Regions from separate parts of the Homo sapiens genome. Here region 1 is linked to region 2. Evidence: promoter capture Hi-C in 16 types of primary human blood cells and fetal thymus (Javierre and others, 2016). All regions are on one chromosome and are shown on one strand. The core of a region is centred on a gene start or on the middle of the fragment in contact, and the rest is flanking DNA. Distances in the headings are between cores, read along the strand shown. Region 1 holds the start of EIF1AX-AS1 (EIF1AX antisense RNA 1). Region 2 holds the start of SCML1 (Scm polycomb group protein like 1).

Evidence for each region. Contacts are between HindIII fragments. The CHiCAGO score rates a contact against its expected background, and 5 or more counts as called.
Region 1: a contact is called between the fragment with the promoter of EIF1AX-AS1 here and the fragment with the promoter of SCML1 in region 2, in 1 of 17 cell types (non-activated CD4 T cells). The highest score is 5.7, in non-activated CD4 T cells.

Annotation. Positions count from the first base shown.
Region 1 is chrX:20,136,785-20,141,715 of GRCh38, forward strand. It overlaps EIF1AX-AS1 (EIF1AX antisense RNA 1), which reads left to right and starts at 3,184. Exons shown (of 2, transcript NR_046592.2): 1 at 3,184-3,451; 2 at 3,551-3,660. EIF1AX (eukaryotic translation initiation factor 1A X-linked) reads right to left here. Exons shown (of 7, transcript NM_001412.4): 1 at 4,841-4,931; 2 at 1,755-1,838. The coding sequence starts at 4,856. RefSeq lists enhancers at 4,296-4,455, 4,786-4,931. The HindIII fragment of the contact is 4,524 bases long and covers 2,760-4,931 here.
Region 2 is chrX:17,735,951-17,740,447 of GRCh38, forward strand. It overlaps SCML1 (Scm polycomb group protein like 1), which reads left to right and starts at 1,543. Exons shown (of 8, transcript NM_001037540.3): 1 at 1,543-1,730. NHS (NHS actin remodeling regulator) reads left to right here. Exons shown (of 9, transcript NM_001291867.2): 9 at 1-44. The HindIII fragment of the contact is 866 bases long and covers 1,073-1,938 here.

The DNA of each region.
Region 1 (4,931 bases), core at 1,934-4,433, 2.4 Mb after region 2:
TGAGGGAAAAAGTAATAATAAAACAGTGTATGCCCAAGTCAAGTCAGCTGCTATTTTAGAGGCAAGGATGACCAAGGCTAAGAAACCAAAGGACTTTTAGCCAGAAAACGTATCTCATGTTTACTGGTTTATATGTATGGCGTAATAAATCCACCCAAAGTTCTATTAAAAGCTAAAGTACTGGAAATAATTGGAATACCTGAGGAAATATGGAGTATATACTAGATATTATATCAATGTCAAATTACCTGAGTGTGATAATTCTCTTCTAGTTATATAAGAAAATATACTTGCACTTAGAAGATACATGATCAAGTAAGGGAAAAGTAACATGATGTCTCTAAATTTCAAATGGTCCTGAAGAAATCCTACATATGGGGCTAGGTGCGGTGGCTCACGCCTGTAATCCCAGCACTTTCGGAGGCCGAGACGGGTGGATCACGAGGTTAGGAGATCGAGACCCATCCTGGCTAACACAGTGAAACCCCGTCTCTACTAAAAATACAAAAAAAATACCCAGGCATGGTGGCGGGTGCCTGTAGTCCCAGCTACTTGGGAGGCTGAGGCAGGAGAATGGCGTGAACCCGGGAGGTGGAGCTTGTAGTGAGCCGAGATCGCGCCACTGCACTCCAGCCTGGGCGACAGAGCGAGACTCCATCTCAAAAAAAAAATTAAAAAATCCCACATATATATTTCTTTATATGTGTGTGTACAGATGAAGGATTTAAGGGAGTTTGTTGCACTAATACTGCAACTTTCTGTAGGTTTGAAATGACTCGAAATAAAAGTAACAGGAAAGGGCAAACGATCCAGTTAGGATTTATTTGACTAGTGCTATGTATCTTGGTCTGGCACTTACAATATTCTTCAGTCTAATAAAATCAGTTAACTGTTCAGTTTCATTTTATTGTAGTTTACGAAGTTATATGCTAATGGCACTGGAGAATGGAGAGGTCTATAAGGGCCTCAGGCTCATCCTTCAAATGTCCATGGTCTACTCAACATATTATATGTACCATTCACTACCAGAAATGCTAATCATAGAACTGCCAACTAAATCACAGAACTGTCAACCATAGCTCAATTCCCTCTGAACTATACGACACATTCTTAGTTCCCAGTACTTTGGGAGGTCATGGTGGGAGAATCACTTGAGCCCAGGAGTTCGAGAATAGCCAGGGCAACATATGAAGACCTCATCTCTATACAGTTTTTTTTTTTTTTTTTTTTTTTTTTTTGAGACAGAGTCTCCCTCTGTCACCCAGGCTGGAGTGCAGTGGTGTGATCTCGGCTCACTGCAACCTCCGCCTCCCAGGTTCAAACAATTCTCCTGCCTCAGCCTCCTGAGTAGCTGGGATTACAGGCACGTGCCACCACACCCAGCTAATTTTTGTAATTTTAGTAGAGACGGGGTTTCATCATGTTGGTCAGGCTGGTCTCGAACTCCTGACCTCGTGATCCGCCCGCCTTGGCCTCCCAAAGTGCTGGGATTACAGACGTGAGCCACTGCGCCCAGCCTAAAAAAATTTTTAAAATTAGCCAGACGTGGTGGTGTGTGCCTGTAGTCCCAAATACTCGGGAGGCTGAAGTGGAAGGACTGCTTCAGCCCAGGAGGTCATGGCTGCAGTGGGCTGTAATCGTGCCACCACACTTCACCCTGGGCGATGGGCAAGACGCTGTCTCAAAAAAATAAAGTCCCCAGCTAAAAAAGAAAGGATGTTATTTTAAAAAGCGTAATTTATGAAAACACTTACCCTGACCATCCTCTTTGAATACCAGTTCTCTTTTTTCAGATTCATTCTCATTCTTACCCCTGCGTCTGTTTTTACCTCCTTTACCTGATGGTTTAAAAAAAAGAAAAGGAGGTAAATGACATTAATTATCTGTAAAACAGTATGAAATAAAATGAAATTAAGGCTTATAAAACCATTTTTTAAAAGATCACTTAAATTAAAAAATTCATCTATTTTAGCTACACAATCATATTAAATTTACAATCTCCAATCCCAACATTAACACATTATCACCTCCCTACCCTTCTTGGAATTTCCTTTGGGGATTTTTCTGACATAAAATACACATAAATAGCAGATATTATGTTAAAAAATATAGAAAAACATTTCACTTTAGCACCCATCCTTTTGAAATAAAAATGCAATTCTATACATATTCTTCTAAGCGGAAATCTTGGGTGTCTTCTAAAGCCAGGCCCTATGCAAGGAACCCGATACTTTCAAAATTAAGTGAAGACAGTGTCTGGACAGAGAACTGTGGTTTTCAAACTTTTGGTAGCAGAGTACCATAAATATTGAAATCTCACTGGGTGCAGTGGTGTGCGCCTAGGGTCTCAGCTACTCAGGAGGCTCAGGTGGGAGGATCACTTGAGCAAGCCCAGGAGGTTCCAGGCTAGCCTGGGCAACATAGCGAGACACTGTCTCTTAAAAAATAAAGAAGATCTGTTCGGTACCCAATTTACTTTCTTTTATAATGCTGGTCCCTACTCAACATCCCTGTTTCTATTATATGACCCCAGTGACCATGCTCTTAACCACTATGCAATAATTCTGCCCATTTACTTGTCACAATCACCCCATGAGGTCATAACATTCATTTATTCCCAGTTTACCCATGAGTTCCCTGAAGCTCAGAGAAGTTAAGTAAGTCGCTTAGCTTCAGTGAGTAAATCAGTTCACTGATTACAGTCAGTAAGCTGGGGTGACCAAAGTCACAATGTTTTTTTTGCCCCTAGCCCCCACATAAGCTTACCTCTCCACAGCATTTTGCTCCCATTCCAGAAAGGAAACCACATTGGCAGCCATTTCCAAAAGGCAGGAAAAAGGCTGTAAGTGGTAATGACCCTAAGAGACTCATGGGAAGAGCTTGGAAGCAGCAAAAAAAAATGGAGGACACTTAAATTAGGTCATGAAAAGTACCATTCCTCTAAGTAAGATAACTAAGAACTGATTGGTTTCAGACAGTACAGGAATGATAAACACCAAACTCAGCCTGGTGATTACCTCCAAAAAGAGAGTAAAAGGTGATTAGGGCTTTACCTCAATCTGCGCTGTAATTCTTAAATTCAGAGTAATGGGTTCCCAGGTATATCATGTTAGCTGTATTTTTTGTATGCCTCAAATGTTATTTAAGAAAAGACTAATTACTTGTCAATTTACCAGAATTAACCATACCCGGATCACTCCCCTTTGTATTTTATTGCCATGTAATGGGATGTTCTTTAAATTCTCTGTTGAATGAATGAGACTAGGTCTGAGTGTACAACAATTAAAGTGACATCAACATTCTTTAAACCAGAGTTGTTTTGGAGAAATTCCCAGAGAGGCTCTTTCTTAAGACATGAGGCTAGGGAACTAGATGTGATTTAGTGTAGAAGTCCTATCCCCTTGGAACCAAAGCAGAACCTATTATTCACTAAGGGTGGAGTCGACAGGAGGTAGGTGACTTAAACCAACAAATATTTATTAAGCATCTACTAATTGTCAAGTGCTGGCAATCCAATGAGATTAAGACAGATACTATTCCTGCCTTGTAGAGCTTACAGCCTGGTGGAAGAATTGGAAATCTTATTACTAGAAATAAAGGTGAGAATAAGATGGAAGTGATCCCCTTACCACCTCAGAGAGAATAAAGGATTATACAGAAGAAAACTGTAAGACTTTAAAATTTTTTGTTTATAACTCCATCTTTTCCAAAATAATGAGCAGTGACTGCACCAACTTGTGCACAGAACACCTCGACCAAGTACCCTAAGGGATAAAGTAATAAGTGACAGCTACAAAGAGGAAATGTGGTAGAATCCCTGGAGCCAGCTGTCAAGTAGAAAAGAGAGCAGAAGTAGGCCTGTGTCAGGGGAGGGTTTCCTCTAGAATGAATAATCAAAGGAGACTACTTACGGACTATGAAGTATGCTCCTCTCCTGTAGGAAAATACAGTATTTTCCCTATATTTACTTGCACAATTTTCTTCAAGTTATACGGCTATTAAAAATGACAGGAACACTGTAAATCTATAAAAGTAATTTCTTTAGGAGTGTTCTGTTTTTTGTTTTTGTTTTTTTTTTTTTAAGATTAGGCCTTCCGTTTTGGAAATCCCAAATAAAGTTATCCTCAAGTCTGATCATTTGTGAACGCTTAGCCTCAGAATGGAGGACACTTAAATTAGGTCTTTATTCTCACAACATATGCATCATCTGAAGCAAAAGTAGAAAACTTGGCTCAATATGGAATAAGTCTTCAGCAAACAAACATAAGCTATATCCTGTAAAGGGATGGAGAGAGTAAATCTCTAGAGGTGAGCCTTAGAAATGTATCAAGGTTTCACCCACTGTTCACAAGGGACAGCGAGTAGCCTCAACAATACTGAACTGTCCATAAAGAAACCCATGCAGGAGTACCTGGTGCTCACGAATGCAGACAGCACTCTGAAAGTTCAGAACGGCTTCCAGGGATTATAACCCCTCATGCCCGGGAAGGCCAAAGGGGCCTATCTACTAAACCTAGGCCGCCCCGGGGAAGGTTCCCGCCACCGTCCCCACCGAGCAGCGGTCAGTCTGGCGCGAATCAGGAGCAAAAGCCCACATTCTCCCGCAGGAGGCCCTACAAAAATGGCGCCGGCTCCACCCCAATGTGACCAAACTGGGCAACAGGAGTTAACTTCCCAGCTCCTCTCCCGAGCTCAGAGTCGCGTGTGGGGCGCCCAGCCGCGGGCAGGCAGGGCGGGAAGGAAAAAGGGTCACTGCGGCCTGGGTGACCTGCAATCTACGGGCAGGACCTGGGAGACCCGGCCGAGCAGAGCCGTGGTCCGGGGGTCCGGGCGGCATTACCTTTATTCTTGGGCATGGCGGTGGCGGCGACCTCGCGGCGTCTCTGACTTCTTTCCGGGTAGCGGCGACCGCGGCGGCTGCTGCTCCGAGG
Region 2 (4,497 bases), core at 293-2,792:
GAAAGTGTGTATAGAAACTGCAAATAAACGTGACTGCAATTAAACAACCGGTTTCTCTCTTCACTGTTACGTAATTGATTTCTTGGGGCTTCGCAACAGTGTTTTACAGGCAACAGGACATAAGGGCAGGGTCTGTTATGGCAAAAGTAGGAGCAAAAAGAACATAGACCAGCCTGTCCAACATGGTGAAACCCGTCTCTACTAAAAATACAAAAATTAGCTGGGCATGGTGGCAGACGCCTGTAATCCCAGCTACTCTGGAGGCTGAGGCAGGAGAATCGCTTGAACCCAGGAGGCAGAGGTTGCAGTGAGCCGAGATCACACCGCTACACTCCAGCCTGGGCAACAAGAGCAAAACTCCGTCTCAAACAAAAACAAAAACAAAAAAAAAACATATACTATATCTATAATGGGCTTTAATCTAGCTTCGTATTTGAGAGGAAAAATGATACATTTCCAACGTCCAGTATACTTTCTTTGTAGCTCCTCTCTGGGCCAAGAAAAGATGTATAGCTTTACTTTGAAATATCTGCCTGCTTTGCTTCTGATAATTACTCAGACTGTGTCTCCTTCCCAAGATGAGCAGCCTCGATATAAGTATGTAAGACTATATGCCACTAGATGATGTCACATAGCCTTTATTACAATAGCAAAATTCTATGCCAGGTACTGTTCTAAGTGCTTTGCATACATTAACTCATGTAGTCCCCATATTATACCCATTTTACAGATGGGGAAACCGAAGCACAAAGCGGTTACTTGGCTTGCCTAAGGCCATAGGAGGACTGTGTTGGAGCTGGGGGTCCAATCCAGTAAATCTGCCTTCAAGGTCTGCGTTAGTTCCCCAGTCCAACTTGTGGGTGCTGGAGACTGGAAATATCTTGCCCGCCCCCCACCCTGGCCCCCCTCGCCCTTCCTACCAGACCTGGCTCAGGGCAACTGCTAAGGCCCCGCCCCTCTCCTCATTCCAAGTCAATCACTGGCGTGCGTCCAGGAAACCCAGTTTACGACGACGTCTCTGGTGCGTCACAGAGCGCGGGGGAGGGGCGGGATCACATTAAAAAAAAAAAAAAGCTTCGGACACCCCAACAACGAAGGGGGGACACCACGTCCCTAACTACAACGCCACTAGAAGGGTTGCGCATGCGCGCCAGCCTCCTGCGCAGCCGCAGAAACCACTCAGCGCGCGAGTCTCTGAAAGGCCTAACGTCCATTTTCAATCCTGCGGGTCTTGCGAAGGAAAACCTGAGGTAAGAGGCCCCGCCCCACAGCCATCTCCTCAGCAAATTCCCGCCCTCGGCCCCGCCCCACAGCTATCTCCTCAGCAAATTCCCGCCCTCGGCCCCGCCCCACAGCCATCTCCTTAGCAAATTCCCGCCCTCACCCAAGGACTGGGAGAGCACCCGCGGATTGGCCGATCAACGGTGACGCCTGTCAGTGGCCAGACTCCGATTGGTCAGCGGGTAGTCCCGCCCCCCCCCCCCCCCCCCCCCCCCCCAACCGCGAGTGTGGGAATTCGGCGTCGCGGGAGCTCTCTGATCCACTCAGGGGTCAGGGCATCACTGGTCTCGCGTGCGCGTGACCAGGCCCGGTTTCCGGTGCCAGGACCTTTCCGAAGCGTCGAGTGGCCTAACGGTCACAGCTGTCGCCCATCGGAGAGGCAGGACTACTGCGAGCAGTTTTACCGCGACCTCCGGAGGCCGGCGTGACAGGCTCTGTCACTAAAATAGGTCTGTCCAGTCGTACTTTTTCCTCACCTTGAACTTTCCGTCACGGGAATACACGATTTGGCTTAGGGGCCGGGGCTCTCCTGAGGAGAGAGGGTTTGCTTTGCGGGGAAGAGCGAGTCTTGACTTCGCAGCCTCCAATTTCAGCCGCGGTGTGGAGGGGGGTGCTTTGGGTGGTCCCCACAGCCTTTCCGGAGTGCCCGCGCGTGTAAGCTTTTGAGATTTGACAATTTGTGAAGTGCTTGGTGCTGACTTTCGGGGACGACAGGATCCTTTTACAGTCATTCTCCTGTCAGGGGAGGCAGGTGGGGAGCGAGGAAGGATCCAGATTTCGTTAACAGAGCTTTGAGTTTAAAGAATTGACAAACTCCCGAGTTGATTTCCTGTCAGACCTTTTGCGGTTGAGACATAGAGTCTGAGGCTTTGATGGTAACCGCGTTTGATTTAGAGACAGACTGTGCAGCTTCGCTGTTTTATTGTAAATACGTAAATGAGGAGGAAGAGAAAAACGTAGGGTGTTGGGAGCAGAGGCGGGAGGCGGGAGATCCTGCGAAATCGGAGTCCCTTTGGAGTGGGGGAGGCCGTCGAGGCGTGCGAGGGCCCGGCCCCCTTGCCGCGTGGTCGTTAACAGGAAAGGCCCTGATTTGGTTGGTGGCGGATCGCGTCCCTCCCTCCTCTCCCCGGCTCTCCCCGAGTGCGGCAAACTGGCTTCAGGTTGACTAAAAGATAGCGATTTTCCAAGCAGCTTTGCCGCGCGGTGTTTTCTAAAGCGGGGCGTGGGCTGGGTGCCCTTTTGGGCCTCACTTGTCCGGCCTGCGGCAAGTGCTGGGCGATGGGATGCGGTTCTGGCGGCAAAGGAAGGGCTGCCTTTGAGAGTCCCGCAGGAAGGTTTAGAAAGTGATTGTTCTTAAAACAAACAGAGCGTTTTGCTGTGTGTTCCTCAAAGTGGTCCCGGTGGGAGTGGCGCCTCATTGTGAGCTGTGCCTTATCTGATGAATTAATGGCAGGTGAAAGCCTTGCGCCTCCGGAGCGAATATTTACGACTTTTGAAAATGTCTTTAATGTCTAAAAAAAGTCTTTTAGAAAATCAGACGGCCTCTTGTTCTTATGTTATCAAGAGTTTAGATTTCTGTGGTAAATATAAGTGAGTTTCATTTTAAGTAAACTCATTTTACGAGATTTGAGATTTGAAAGTGAAATTAATTAATTTTGCACAATCTAGCCTTGGGCTCTGAGAAAATGTTGTAAAGCTGTAATTAATCTTGTGGGACGAAGTGAAAAGGAACTAAAGTGTATGGTGTAATGAATAGTTTAAATTTCTGTGGTAAATACAAGTGAGTTTCATTTTAAGTAAACTCATTTTTATGGGATTTGAGATTTAAAAGTGAAATTAATTAATTTCGCACAATCTAGTCATGGTTGGGCTCAGAAAATGTTGTAAAGTTGTGATTTATCTTATGGAAAGAAGTGAAAAGGAATTAAGGTATATGGTGTAATTAAGAGTTTAAATTTCTGTGGTAAATGCAAGTGAGTTTCATTTTAAGTAAACTCATTTTTACGGGATTTGAGATTTAAAAGTGAAATTAATTCATTTTGCACAGTGTAGTCATGGTTGGGCTCTGAGAAAATGTTGTAAAGCTGAAATTATTTATCTTGTGGGAAGAAGTGAGAAGAAACTAAAATGTGTGGTATTATCAAGAGTTTAGATTTCCGGGGTAAATATAAATGAGTTTCCTTTAAACTCATTTTTGTGGAATTTGAGGTTTAAAAGTGAAATTAATTTTGTAGAATCTAGTCATGGTTGGGCTCTGAGAAAATGTTGTAAAGCTGTAATTTATCTTGTGGGAAAAAGTGAAAAGGAACTTAAATTTATGGTGTTATCAAGAATTGGCCAGGCGCGGTGGCTCACACCTGTAATCCCAGCACTTTGGGAGGCCGAGGTGGGCAGATCACTTGAGGTCAGAAGTTCGGGACCAGCCTGGCCAACATGGTGAAACCCAGTCTTTACTAAAAGTACAAAAATTAACTGGGCATGGTGGTGCAAGCCTGTTACGCTAACTACTCGGGAGGCTGAGGGAGGAGAATTGCTTTAACCCGGGAGGCAGAGGTTGCAGTAAGCCGAGATCATGCCACTGCACTCCAGCCTGGGTGACAGAGTAAGACTCTGTCTCAAAAAAAAAAAAAAAAAAAAAAGAAATTTAGATTTCTGTGGTAAATATAAATGAGTTTCATTTTAAGTAAACTCATTTTGTGGGATTTGAGATTTAAAAATGAAATTAATTTTGCACATTCTAGTCATGGTTGGGCTCTAAGGCAATGTTGTAAAGCTGTAATTGTTTGCCTTATGGGAAGAAGTGAAAAGGAATTAAAATTTATGGTGTGTCTACTATGAACCAGGCATGATGCTGAGAGTTTAACTGTGTAATTTTTGGCCTAAATAGCCCTGTGAAGTAGATATTATTCCAACTTTACAGGTTAGAAAATTTGAGGCACAGAGAGGTGAAATATTTGCCTAAAGTGAAACGGCAAATTTGGCAATTTGGACTTGGATTCAAGTGTTTATAACTAAAGCCCAGCTCCTTGCATCATACCCTGGTACCTAAAAGACATAAAAACTCACTTCAGGTGCAATGTGAATGAAAATGACGTTATGACCCAGGCTTGTTGTCTATGTGCTCCTTGAGAAATAGTTCTGTTGGATAGATGCGGTCAATACTCAAAAGCCCTTGCTATCTTTGCCATGCATTACTCTAAGCACTTGACATGTATT